2 separate regions of the Homo sapiens genome follow, and region 1 is linked to region 2. The links are contacts of gene promoters, found by promoter capture Hi-C in human tissues and cell types (Jung and others, 2019). All regions are on one chromosome and are shown on one strand. Each heading gives the region's core, a stretch centred on a gene start or on the middle of the fragment in contact. The rest is flanking DNA. Distances are from core to core; before and after follow the strand shown.

The links. Contacts are between HindIII fragments. The study calls those that stand out against the background at their distance.
Region 1: a contact is called between a fragment that was not itself captured here and the fragment with the promoter of PRR22 in region 2, in 1 of the 25 tissues and cell types used here (dorsolateral prefrontal cortex).

Annotation. Positions count from the first base shown.
Region 1 is chr19:6,383,794-6,389,830 of GRCh38, reverse strand. GTF2F1 (general transcription factor IIF subunit 1) reads left to right here. Exons shown (of 13, transcript NM_002096.3): 4 at 194-387; 5 at 2,272-2,442. It overlaps MIR6885 (microRNA 6885), which reads left to right and starts at 128; the gene lies at 128-193. RefSeq lists an enhancer at 2,299-2,799. The HindIII fragment of the contact is 4,380 bases long and covers 1-3,440 here.
Region 2 is chr19:5,780,776-5,787,200 of GRCh38, reverse strand. It overlaps PRR22 (proline rich 22), which reads left to right and starts at 2,455. Exons shown (of 3, transcript NM_001134316.2): 1 at 2,455-2,670; 2 at 2,762-2,824; 3 at 3,148-4,241. The coding sequence starts at 2,541. The coding sequence ends at 4,223. It overlaps DUS3L (dihydrouridine synthase 3 like), which reads left to right. Exons shown (of 13, transcript NM_020175.3): 8 at 30-140; 9 at 356-452; 10 at 659-734; 11 at 1,410-1,598; 12 at 1,690-1,818; 13 at 1,926-2,061. The coding sequence ends at 1,998. RefSeq lists a silencer at 6,291-6,425. The HindIII fragment of the contact is 36,623 bases long and covers 1-6,425 here.

The DNA.
Region 1 (6,037 bases), core at 1-2,500, 600 kb before region 2:
AGAGCGCAAGGCTCGCCCAAATTCCCTTTACCCAGATTTGTCAAAGGCTACCGTTCTCCTCCCTTGTTGCCAAGTGGTAAGTTGGTTTTGAGAATCTAGAGCTTGGCCTAGGGCAAGGAAGGGCGTTCCTGGAGGGGGGCACTGCGCAAGCAAAGCCAGGGACCCTGAGAGGCTTTGCTTCCTGCTCCCCTAGGCTCGGCTGGAGCGGGACTTGAGCAACAAGAAAATCTACCAAGAGGAGGAGATGCCCGAATCGGGCGCGGGCAGTGAGTTCAACCGCAAGCTTCGGGAGGAGGCTCGGAGGAAGAAGTACGGCATCGTCCTCAAGGAGTTCCGGCCCGAGGACCAGCCCTGGCTGCTCCGGGTCAACGGCAAATCAGGCAGGAAGTAAGTGGTGGGGCGGTGGCGGTGCCGGCTTAGTGACCAGTCCACATCCCCAGGCCTCAACTTACATACTTTGTGGGGTACCCTCTCTGAACCTCAGATTCCCACTGCTGCAGTGGAAGTGCTGGCACTTCCATCCCTGTAGGATTTTATTATTTATTTATTTATTTATTTATTTATGTTATCTTATTTTACTTACTTGTATTTTTTTGAGACAGAGTCTTGCTCTGTCGCCCAGGCTGGAGTGCAGTAGCACGATCTTGGCTCACTGCAACCCACACCTCCCAGGTTCAAGTTATTCTCCTGCCTGAGCCTCCTGAGTAGCTGGGATTACAGGTGCCTGCCACCACCACGCCCAGCTAATTTTTGTATTTTTAGTAGAGACAGGGTTTCACCATATTGGTCAGGCTGGTCTCGAACTTGGCGATCCTCCCGCCTCGGCCTCCCGTAGTGCTGGGATTACAGGCGTGAGCCACCGTGCCCAGCCTACTTATTTATTTTGAGACAGGGTCTCACTCCGTTGCCCAGGCTGGAGTGCAGTGGTGCGATCGTAGCTCACTGCAGGCTCCAACTCCTGGGCTCGAGATCTTCCCACCTCAGCATCCTGAGTAGCTGGGACTATAGGCACGCCCCACCATGCCTGGCTAATTTTTGTATTTTTGGTAGAGATGGGGTCTTGCTGCGTTGCTCAAGCTGGTCTTGAACTCCTGGGGTCAAGTGATCCTCCTACCTTGGTCTCCCAAAGTGCTGGGATTATAGGTATGAGCCACTGCCCAGGCCCTGGGGTTGTGTTTTTGAAGACAGTTCACTGAGTTGGTGCTTGTGCCTGGCTCTGAGGCAGCTCTGAGTGCCACAATGCAGGAAGCTTAGGTGGCCAGCCCTGGGAGCTCATGACACTTGAGATGACCTCTCAGAGGGGGCAGACTGAGGGCAGAACAGGAGGGGTCCAGGTTAGGTTGATGAAGGGTGCTCCAGGCACAGCAGTTGGGTGATAGTGACAGACACAGGCAGCTCACACAGGGCAGTGGGTGCCAGGATGTGCTGGGTCCAGCGGAGCCTTGGAAAGCTGTAGGCAGGGAAGAGGCACTCACCCAGACTGTCCGGAACTTTGGGGTAGAAAAGAATGAGGTAGAGGCCTCAAGGAGGCTGGGCAGTTGTTTAGGCTTGAGGAAATGGTGGCCCGGGCCAGGTGTCCACTTCAGATTTGGCCATGCCATGGCTGGGCGCGGTGGCTCACGCCTGTAATCCTAGCCCTTTGGGAGGCAGAGGCGGGCGGATTACGTGGGGTCAGGGGTTCGAAACTAGCCTGGCCAACATGGTGAAACCCTGTCTCTACTAAAACTACAAAAATTAGCTGGGTGTGGTGGCAGACACCTGTAATCCCAGCTACTCGGGAGGCTGAGGCATGAGAATTGCTTGAACCCGGGAGGTGGAGGTTGCAGTGAGCTGAGATGGTGCCACTGCACTCCAGCCTGGGTGCCAGAGCGAGACTCCATCTCAAAAAAAAAAATTTGGCCATGCCTTCCCGCCCCATCTTCTCACTTGGCTCCTCAGTTTCCCGGGTGTGGCCCACAGATAGCAGAGCTGGAGGCAAATGTAGACAGTTTGACTGCAGGGTTGGGCTCTCCTGAGATAATCTCACACAGTCTTTCCAGAAATGATCCCGATGTGCACACGCCCAGCACTTTGCAGGGTAGGTGCGCCGGCCCTGTTCCCCAGATGTGGAAATTGACGAGGCCCAGGTGGTTGAAGGGCCTGCCCAGGCCTCATGGGCATTTCTTGGTCTTCCTCCTATGGCAAGTGCCATAAAGGAGGCAGGCCCCGGGGGGACACGGGGGGGCTGGGGCTGGTCCCTATGGGCCAGGCCATGACCGTGGCTCCCTGCAGGTTCAAGGGCATCAAGAAGGGAGGCGTAACAGAGAACACGTCCTACTACATCTTCACCCAGTGCCCCGACGGGGCCTTCGAGGCCTTCCCCGTGCACAACTGGTACAATTTCACACCGCTGGCCCGGCATCGCACGCTCACTGCCGAGGAGGCCGAGGAGGAGTGGGAGAGGTGAGTGGGCTGGGTGGTGGCTGGGGACAGAAGTGAGGGAAATGGGGTGCCTTGCCATGGATATATCACCAGGCCCTGTGCTGGGAGCTGGGGACTCAGGGGTAACCAGGGCAGACCCCACTCGGCCGTCTCAGAGCTGTCAGTTCAGGAGGAAACAGATAGGAGGCCTTAGGGCCACAATGGGGCACCCCAGAGGGTGCTGCCAGAGCCAGAGTCTGTGACCCGGAGCTCAAATTGGCAGAGCAGGGTGGGGTCTAACTGCCCCCTTGGCTTTCCGCAGGCTGCAGGTCACACAGCCTGATCCACTGCAGGGCAGCAGCTCCAGGCAGGGCACCCGAGGAGGGTTTCTCTAGCAGTGACATCGGCCTCAGAGGTGGGGCGGGTGCAGTTAAGGGCTGTGGAGGGACACAGTGCATGAGGCCAGTGCAGAGTGACTGTGGGCAGGGGGACGAGGCTGGGGGCCCAGAGCACTTGGTCTTGGATGTATGGCTTTGGATGAGACCGTAGGGCCACCACCACCCTAGGGTGCTTGCAGATGGTGGGGAGGGCACTCTGGACGCATCTACAAATGGCATTTGCACAGGTCACAGATGAGCAGATGCTCAAAGAGTCGATGGCTCCCAAAGGTTAAAAAAACACCTTTTTCGGCTGGGTGTGGTGGCTCACGCCTGTAATCCCAGCACATTGGGAGGCCAAGGCAGGCGGATCACGAGGTCAGGAGATCGAGACCATCCTGGCTAACACGGTGAAACCCCGTCTCTACTAAAAATACAAAAAATTAGCCGGGCATGGTGGCGGGCGCCTGTAGTCCCAGTACTCGGGAGGCTGAGGCAGGAGAATGGCGTGAACTGGGAGGCGGAGCTTGCAGTGATCCTAGATGTTGCCAGTGCACTCCAGCCTGGGCGACAGAGCGAGACTCCGTCTCAAAACAAAACAAATAAAACACCTTTTTCCCTCTTTGGTGTTTTTTTGTTTGTTTGTTTGTTTGTGTGTTTTTTTTTGAACTGAGTTTCGCTCTTGTTGCCCAGGCTGGACTGCAGTGGCGCAATCTCAGCTCACTGCAACCTCCGACTCCTAGGTTCAAGCAATTCTCCTGCCTCAGCCTCCCAAGTAGAGAAATGGGATTACAGGCATGCACCACCACGCCTGGCTAACTTTGTATTTTTTGTAGAGACAGGGTTTCACCATGTTGGCCAGGTGGTCTCAAACTCCTAACCTCAGGTGATCTGCCCCCCTCAGCCTCCCTAAGTGTGGGGATTACATCCGTGAGCCACCACGCCCGGCCTGTTTTAGTTTTGTTGTTTTGTTTTTTTGAGACCGAATCTCGCTCTGTCACCCAGGCTGGAGTGCAGTGGCGCGATCTCAGCTCACTGCAAGCTCCGCCTCCCGGGTTCATGCCATTCTCTGGCCTCAGCCTCCTGGGTAGCTGGGACTACAGGCGCCTGCCACCATGCCCGGCTAATTTTTTTCTATTTTTTTGGTACAGATGGGGTTTCACCGTGGTCTCGATCTCCTGACCTCGTGATCTGCCTGCCTCGGCCTCCCAAAGTGCTGGGATTACAGGCGTGAGCCACCATGCCCAGCCCCTGCTTTAGTTTTTAATCATTTTCTTTGGTTTTAAAATTTCTGAAGAGTCATAGGTTGGCTCAGCTCCAAAAGCAACCCCGGTAAATGGCACGAAGTCAGAGCGTCCTCCCCACCAGGTCATGAGCCTCCGAGCCTGTGGGGCAGTTTCTGTACCCCTGCTCCCCTGGAACAACAGCCCCCAGGTCTGCCTGCCTGCTCCACTTTGGTTGAGTTCCTGGGGCTCCACTGTAAAATCAGTCGATCAATCATTGCTGGGGGGGCAGGTTCGCTTTTGCTGTATTTTCCTTAGAATCTGCTTTGTAAGTTTTAGGGAGAAGAATTTGGCATTTTATAGAATTGTGTAAAACCTGGATGTTAACCAAAGGAGAAATGCCATCTCTTTTTTTTTTTTTTTTTTTTTTTTTTTGAGACAGTCTCACTGTCACCCAGGCTGGAGTGCAGTGGTACCATCTCAGCTCACTGGCTCATTGCAACCTCGACCTCCTGGGTTTAAGCGATTCTGCCTCAGCCTTGCGAGTAGCTGGGACTACACACGTGCACCTCCCCACCTGGCTAATTTTTGTACTTTTAGTAGAGAAGGGGTTTCAGCATATTGCCCAGGCTGGTCTCCAACTCCTGGCCTCAAGTGATCTGCCCGCTTTGGCATCCCAATATGCTGGGATTACAGGTGTGAGCCATGGTGCCCGGCCAGAATGCCATCTCTTGATCAGATGTTAAATCTACTTAGCTAAGAACTGTTCAGGCTGGGCACGTGGAGAGCGGATCGCAAGGTCAAGAGTTCGAGACCAGCCTGGCCAAGAGACCAGCCTGGCCAATTTGGTGAAATGCCATCTCTACTAAAAATACAGAAATTAGCCAGGCATGGTGGCGGGCACCTGTAATCCCAGCTACTCGGGAGGCTGAGGCAGGAGAATTGCTTGAACCCGGGAGGTGGAGGTTGTGGTGAGCCGAGATCACACCATTGCACTCCAGTCTCGGTGACAGATCAAGACTCCAACTCAAAAGAAAAGAAAAGAAAAGAAAAGAACAAATGGTGATGGTGTCTCGCCATGTTGCTCAGGCTGGTCTCAAACTCCTGGGTTCAAGCGAGCCTCCAGCCTCGGCCTCCCCTCCCAAAGTGCTGGGATGACAGGCTTGAGCCACTGCACCAAACTGTCACTGTTTTTTGGTGCATGGCTCAGTGTGGTAAAGCCACTCACAGTGTTAAGCAGCAGTTTCATTATCTTTCACACCAGCCTGGGCCTTGCCCATGTTAGATGCATTCCTATTAAATGCAGTCCTTTTTTTTTTTTTGGAGACAGATTCTTACTCTGTCACCGAGGCTGGAGTGCTGTGGGGCAATCTTAGCTTACTGCAACCTCTGCCTCCTGGGTTCAATTGATTCTCCTCCCTCAGCCTCCTGAGTAGTCAGGACTACAGGCACATGCCACCACGCCCGGCTAATTTTTTAATTTTTTGTAGGGATGAGGTTTCACCATGTTGTTCAGGCTGTTCTCAAACTCCTGACCTCAGGTGATCCACTTGCCTCGGCCTCCCAAAGTGCTGGGATTACAGGCGTGAGCCACCGCGCCCAACCTGGCCTGCAGTCCTGTTTTTTAAAGCTTCCCTGAGCAATGAGACAACGTTACATTGTTCCAATGGAAACAGTATGTTTTGTCATTAAAGAAAAATACATCTATAAATTAAGATAACAAAAGATCTGGCTGGGCACGGTGGCTCACACCTGTAATCCCAGCACTTTGGGAGGCCAAGGTGGATCATGAGGTCAGGAGTTCGAGACCAGCCTGTCCAACATGGTGAAACCCTGTCTCTACTAAAAATACAAAAAAAAAAAAAAATTAGCTGGGCGTGGTGGCAGGCGCCTGGAACCCCGGCTATCTGGGAGGCTGAGTCAGGAGAATTGCTTGAAGCCAGGAGGCGGAGGTTGCAGTGAGCCGAGATCACATCACTGCACTCCAGTCTGGGCGACAGAGCGATACTCTGTCTCAGAAAATAAAAAAATAATAAT
Region 2 (6,425 bases), core at 1,206-3,705:
TCCCACCACCTCCCACCACCGTCCTGTAGGTGCTGGATGTGCCGCTGACTGTGAAGATCCGCACAGGCGTCCAGGAGCGTGTGAACCTGGCGCACCGCCTGCTGCCCGAGCTGCGGGACTGGGGCGTGGCACTCGTCACGGTGGGTCTTGGGACGCCTCGGGCATTGGGGCCTCGCGGTCGACCCCGCGTCCCTTCCTAATGGCTCCTCTCCTCCCATCCCTCCCTCTTCACCTCCACACCTCCCTCTGTCTCCGCCTGTGTCTCTCTCTGTCTCTCTCAGCCTGGCTCTCTTGGTCTCTTCCTCTCTGCGTCTCACTCTCTGCCTCCTACCCTGCGTGGCGGCTTCTCCCCCAGCTCCACGGCCGCTCTCGGGAGCAGCGCTACACCAAGCTAGCCGACTGGCAGTACATCGAGGAGTGCGTGCAGGCCGCCAGCCCCATGCCCCTGTTCGGTGGGTGTTCCGGGAAGCCACCTCCCTCTCCCCTACCACCCTTGGTCACTCACACCTCTGGGCTGTTCGCCTTCCCACTTGGGACCCCCTCGTACCACCCTGATGGGAGCCACTGGGTCAGCCAAAACTCCTGAAGGGCTGGTGAGCAGAACTCCAGGGTCCCACCTGCCCATGTCTCCCTGAGACCCCAGCCTCTGTCTCCTCAGGAAATGGGGACATCTTGTCATTTGAGGATGCCAACCGCGCCATGCAGACTGGTGTCACCGGGATCATGATTGCCCGGTAAGTGCCCAGGGATGTTAGAGATCCAGCTTCATGCACAGCAGCAGTGCCCTGAACCCAACACGCCGTCACCCACCCCTGTTCTGTGGTGGGCTGTTGGTCCCAAGATGGGAGGAGCAGAGAGCGATGTCAGGAGTTGCAGCTGCGTTGCGGCAGAGGGGACTGGAAATTGCTGCTGCTGTGGGATCTGATGATTGTGGGTTGAAAGTCCTGGGCTTTGGCCAGGTGTGTGGCTCACGCCTGTAATCCCAGCACTTTGGGAGGCCAAGGCACGCCGATCATTTGAGGTCGGAGGTTCAAGACTAGCCTGACCAACATGGTGAAACATCTCTATTAAAAATACAAAAATTAGCCAGGTGTAGTGGTACACGCCTGTAATCCCAACTACTAGGGAGGCTGAGGCAGGACAATTGCCTGAACCTGGGAGACGGAGGTTGAACAGTGAGCCGAGATCTTACCACTGCACCCCAGCCTGGGCGACAGAGCCAGACTCCGTCTCAGAAAAAACAAAAGAAAGTCCTGTGCTTTGAAGGTTGTGTGCATGCAGCTGGGAGGCTTACTAGGCTTGTAGGTTTTGTGGTCTGGGCTCCGGCTCAGGCCAGGCCATGGAAGCAGAGGCCACACGATCCCAGGCAGGCTGGTGGCTGGGCCCACTGATCGTCACCCGTCCCACAGTGGCGCCCTGCTCAAGCCGTGGCTCTTCACGGAGATCAAGGAGCAGCGGCACTGGGACATCTCGTCGTCCGAGCGCCTGGACATCCTGCGGGACTTCACCAACTACGGCCTGGAGCACTGGGGCTCGGACACGCAGGGCGTGGAGAAGACCCGGCGCTTTCTGCTCGAGTGGCTGTCCTTCCTGTGCCGGTGGGCACCGGGGCTGGCTGGGGTGGGCGGCGCGTGGGCCGCGGCTGGTTAGAGCTGACTCAAGCCTGTCCTGCCCGCCCACCCGCCGCAGGTACGTGCCCGTGGGGCTGCTGGAGCGGCTCCCACAGAGGATCAACGAGCGGCCGCCCTACTACCTGGGCCGCGACTACCTGGAGACGCTGATGGCCAGCCAGAAGGCAGCCGACTGGATCCGCATCAGGTGCCTGGGTGGGCTGGAGTTGGGGAGCTGCAGTCGGGGGCCCGGGGTCACGGAGGGTACTTTGCAGGTCCTGGGCCTGACCTCGCTTTCCACCTGCTCTCCCACAGCGAGATGCTCCTTGGGCCAGTGCCCCCCAGCTTCGCCTTCTTGCCGAAGCACAAGGCCAACGCGTACAAGTAGCCTCAGGCTTTCCCAGGGGCACCCTGGGGCGAGGAGAGTACAATAAATTTTATTCTTTTAAAATCCAGGCCTTTCTGTGACCCTGAAGCAGCCCCTCCTCGGCCCCCACCTTCCCCAAACCTCTTAGCTGCCTCCATGGGCCCTGCCCCAAGCTGGGTGCTGCTGGTGCCCAGAGAGGCCTTGACCCCCAAGAAGGTAGCGGGTTGAGGACCCGGGGGGCCTCAGCCTGTGTGGGTGTGGATCAGGGCAGCCTGCCTGGAGGAGGCGGCCTCAAAGCTGTTAGGGGGGTGTTGCTGGAAGAGGCAAAGGCCTGGCCCAGAATCCTCCCTCCCATGGTGATGACCATGTCTGCCAACGTCTGCCCCTGCTTGCCCCCAACACCCAGAACCCCAACCAGTGGGCGCGCTGCAGGCTGGAACCCGCTGCCCCGAGTAACCAGGCAAACAGAACCCCACCAGGTTCTCAGCCTGTTCTCCGGTTGGGCCACTTGCACTCCCACTGCCGCCCTCCTGGCCTGTCTGGACCGGGCCCCCCGCTGCCCCATGCAGCACCCCAAACCGTTCTGTGCCCCTGCAGCTCCCCAGGAAGGTTTCAGCCCGCAGAGTCTGGAGGGGGCTGAGGTGCTGGGCAACCAGCCTGCTCCCACCTGTGCCGAGCCTCCTCCCGCTATGGGTACGATCGGGTGGGTGGGAGCACCTGCTGGAGAGGGTTCAGGGGCCCACCCGCCTAAGGGCCCTACCCACCTGGGCACCTTTGTCCACAGGCTCCTTGAACCTGTATCATCCCCCAGACCCAGAGAAAGAGGTGTTTCCAGCCCCACCAGCAGGTACCGGCCTCCCCTGAGCCCTTGACGAGGCTGGGAGTGGGTTTGAGTGTGCAGGCCCATCTTGCCCCTGCCCCGTCCCTAAGTGGGAGCCTGAAGGCATGGCCTCTGCTCCCCATGCTTCACACAGGTCCCCCAGATGAGCCCCAAAGACAAGCTCTGTGTCATCCATCACCCAGCCAGGGCCCCAAAGCAATATCTATGTCGTCCCCCAAAGGGGCCCCCCAATGGCAAGGTTCTTGTGGCATCTCCCAAACAGGCCCCCAGGCTTGGGCTGGGCCCCTCAGGCAGCAGCTGCTCTCAGGGCACCCGCCTGCCGCCCACAGGTTTCCAGATGGCCCCATGCGGGTGCTTCTTCGACCCCCGCATCTATCGGATCGAGTGGACCACCCCCGACCTGGGCCAGTCAGCCCTGTATAAGCTGGCAGCAAGCAGCGGGGGGCCAGCGGGGGTCCCCTCCGCCCCAGGCAGCTACCTCCTGGAGCCTCAGCCCTACCTCAAGGCCCCGGGGCTGCCTCCATACCCCCACTACCAGCAGGCACCCGGGGGGCCCCAGTTTCTCTTGCCCTACTTCCCGCCTGAGGGCCCCGGGCCAGAGGCTCTGGGTTTTGTGGGGGACGCAGGGCCCGCCGCCTTCGTGGAGCTGCCCCTACCGCCCCTAGAGGAAGGCCCGGCCCCGCTGCCACCCCCACCCCCCAAGGAGAACAAGCCGCCCCCTGTACTCATCACGCTGCCTGCAGAGCCCACACTGCCCCCAGACGCCTACAGCCACCTCCAGGGTCACCTCGGCCACTTCCCTGGGCCCGAACCCCTGGCCTTCCCCGTCAAGGAGCTGCAGGGCAGTGGGGCCCGACCTGGGGTGCCCCTGTACCCACCGGGCCTCAGCGAGCTCAAGGTGGCCGAGGTCAAGGAGGGGGCCCTGCTGGGAGCAGGCAAGGCCAAGGCCCCCAAGACGGCCAGAGCTTTGGCACTGCCTGACAAGGTTCTGCTGGAGGACGCCATGAAGCTCTTCGACTGCCTGCCAGGCGCCTCTGAGCCTGAGGGTACCCTGTGCGAGGTCCCTGGGCCGGCCCTGCCTGACAGCAGTGGTGGGAACTCAGCCGATGACATCCGCTCGCTGTGCCTGCCCGAGGAGCTGCTGTCCTTTGACTACAGCGTGCCTGAGATCCTGGACACCGTGTCCAACGTTGACTACTTCTTCAACTTCAAGGCGCTCGACGAGGAGCAGCCGCCCCACCCGGGGCCCCCTGCCACCAACACCCCGGCCCCCATTCTGTCTGGCAAGAGAAAGGCCTCGACGGCCAAGAAGGGAAAGCCGGGAAGGAAGGCCAGGCAGCCGGCAGGCCCAGCCAGCGCCACTCCCCCGGGGCCCAGGGAGGACCTGGGAGCCACCCCGCATTAAAGCACATTTGACCTTTCAGCTCCATGTCCACGTGGGGGCCTTGGGGATGGGGAGGGGGCTGGAGATGCACGCCTGGCCCCTCACCCCATCATCCCGCGGACTGGCAAGGCAGCGCCCCCGGCCTCACAGTGAGGCCTCTTAGCAGGGGAGCCCCGGAATCACAGGACACCCTAAACTCCTTGAGTCCCAGCCCTGGAACATCAGACTCCTCTGGCAGAGGCAGGGGCCTCCTGGGGCACGAGGGAGCTGACCCCCAGACTCAACGCGTTCTAAGGGTTTTCACCCCTTTGTTTGGTGGGGGAAAGCAAGGCTGCCCAGAGCAGCAGGAACTTCCTTGGAGACACACAGCCATCAGGGCAGGGCTTGAGGAGCATCCTCCAGATCCCCACCCAGCTGCCTCCTGTCCCCAGGAAGCCACAGCCACTGCAGGCAGGGCGGGAAGGGCCACGCTCTTGTTCAGACAGACAGGTGGGTGCAGGGGCTTCACCTGATGGTCTGAGGGTGGGGGCTGGGGCAGGGATGAGACAGTGCCCACGCGTGAAGGGGTGGGGAGCACACGGCACCCAGGGGGCCTGGCATGTGCACCCAAGATGGAGACAGGAGACAGCACCTGGAGCCCAGGAGAGGGTCAGGGGCCCCACCCGGCCACACTTCGGGGTCCGGGGTGGCAGGGACAGCCTGGCTACTCGTTCCAAAATGGGATGGGCCCAGCCTCGGAAGAACGACCTCCGGGTGCTGGTTCCCGTCACTGCTTACCCACATCAGGGTCTCGAGAGCCCTCCTGGGGGTCCAGGCAGTGGCCACCTGTACCCTCCTCCCCTGAAACGCTCATGGTGGCCCTGGAGAGGCTGACCCCATTCCCCCAGGGACACATAAGGAAACAGGAGGTCGAGTGCCATCCAGCGCCTCCTGGGATGAGGACACCCCTCTGGGATGGGAACCTTCAGCCTACCCCTTCCCCAGGCTGCGGGCTGGATCTCCTGGGTCTCCGGAGTTTGGGTTTCAAGGCCTCTGCTTGGGGAGGCCCTGGGAGGCTCACCTAGAGTCCAGGAGGCTGATGGGTGTTTGGAGGCCGAGCAGAGACCATGGTCCCGGCTCTGTGTAGGGCACTGTGCCTGCTGCTCTCTGGAGCTACTCTCCCGGAAACCCTTATTCAAAAAACTCAGGAGGAGGCCAGGTGCAGTGGCAAACACCTGTAATCTCAGCACTTTGGGAGGCCGAGGCGGGCAGATCACTTGAGGTCAGGAGTTCGAGACCAGCTTGGCCAAAATGGTGAAACCCTGTCTCTACTGAAAATACAAAAATTGGCCGGGCGCAGCTTCTCACGCCTGTAATCCCAGTACTTCGGGAGGCCAAGGCAGGCAGATCACGAGATCAGGAGATTGAGACCATCCTGGCAAACACGATGAAACCCCAGCTCTACTAAAAATACAAAAAAATTAGCTGGGTGTGGTGGCGGGTGCCTGTAGTCCCAGCTACTCGGGAGGCTGAGGCAGGAGAATGGCGTGAACCCAGGAGGCGGAGCTTGCAGTGAGCCAAGATTGCACCACTGCACTCCAGCCTGGGCGACAGAGTGAGACTCCGTCTCAAAAAAAAAAAGAAAATGCAAAAATTATCTGGGTATGGTGGCAGGCGCCTGTAATCCCAGCTACTCAGGAGACTAAGGCACAAGAATTGCTTGAGCCCGGGAGGCAGAGGTTGTAGTGAGCCGAGATCACATCACTGCACTCCACCCTGGGCAATAGAGCAAGACTCCATTTCAAAAAACAAAAACAACTCCGGGTAGTGTCTCGGGGCCATGCAGCTGTGGCCCTCAAGACAGGGTCCCCCTGTCCCAGGGACTGTGCCATGTGCCCTCCTGGCATCTGCAGTGATCCCCATTCATCACTGTTTGACCCGTGGGGACACAGGCTGGGAGAGACTCCAAGTGCACTTTTGTTTTTTTGAGGCAGAGTTTCGCTCTTGTTGCCCAAGCTGGAGTGCAATGGCGTGATCTCGGCTCACTGCAACCTCCGCCTCCCGAGTTCAAGTGACTCTCCTGCCTGCCTCAGCCTCCCGAGTAGCTGGGATTACAGGTGTGCACCACCACACCTGGTTAATTGTATTTTTAGTAGAGACGGGATTTCACCATGTTGGTCAGGCTGGTCTCGATCTCCTAACCTCAGGGGATCCGCCCGCCTCAGCCTACCAAAGTGCTGGGAT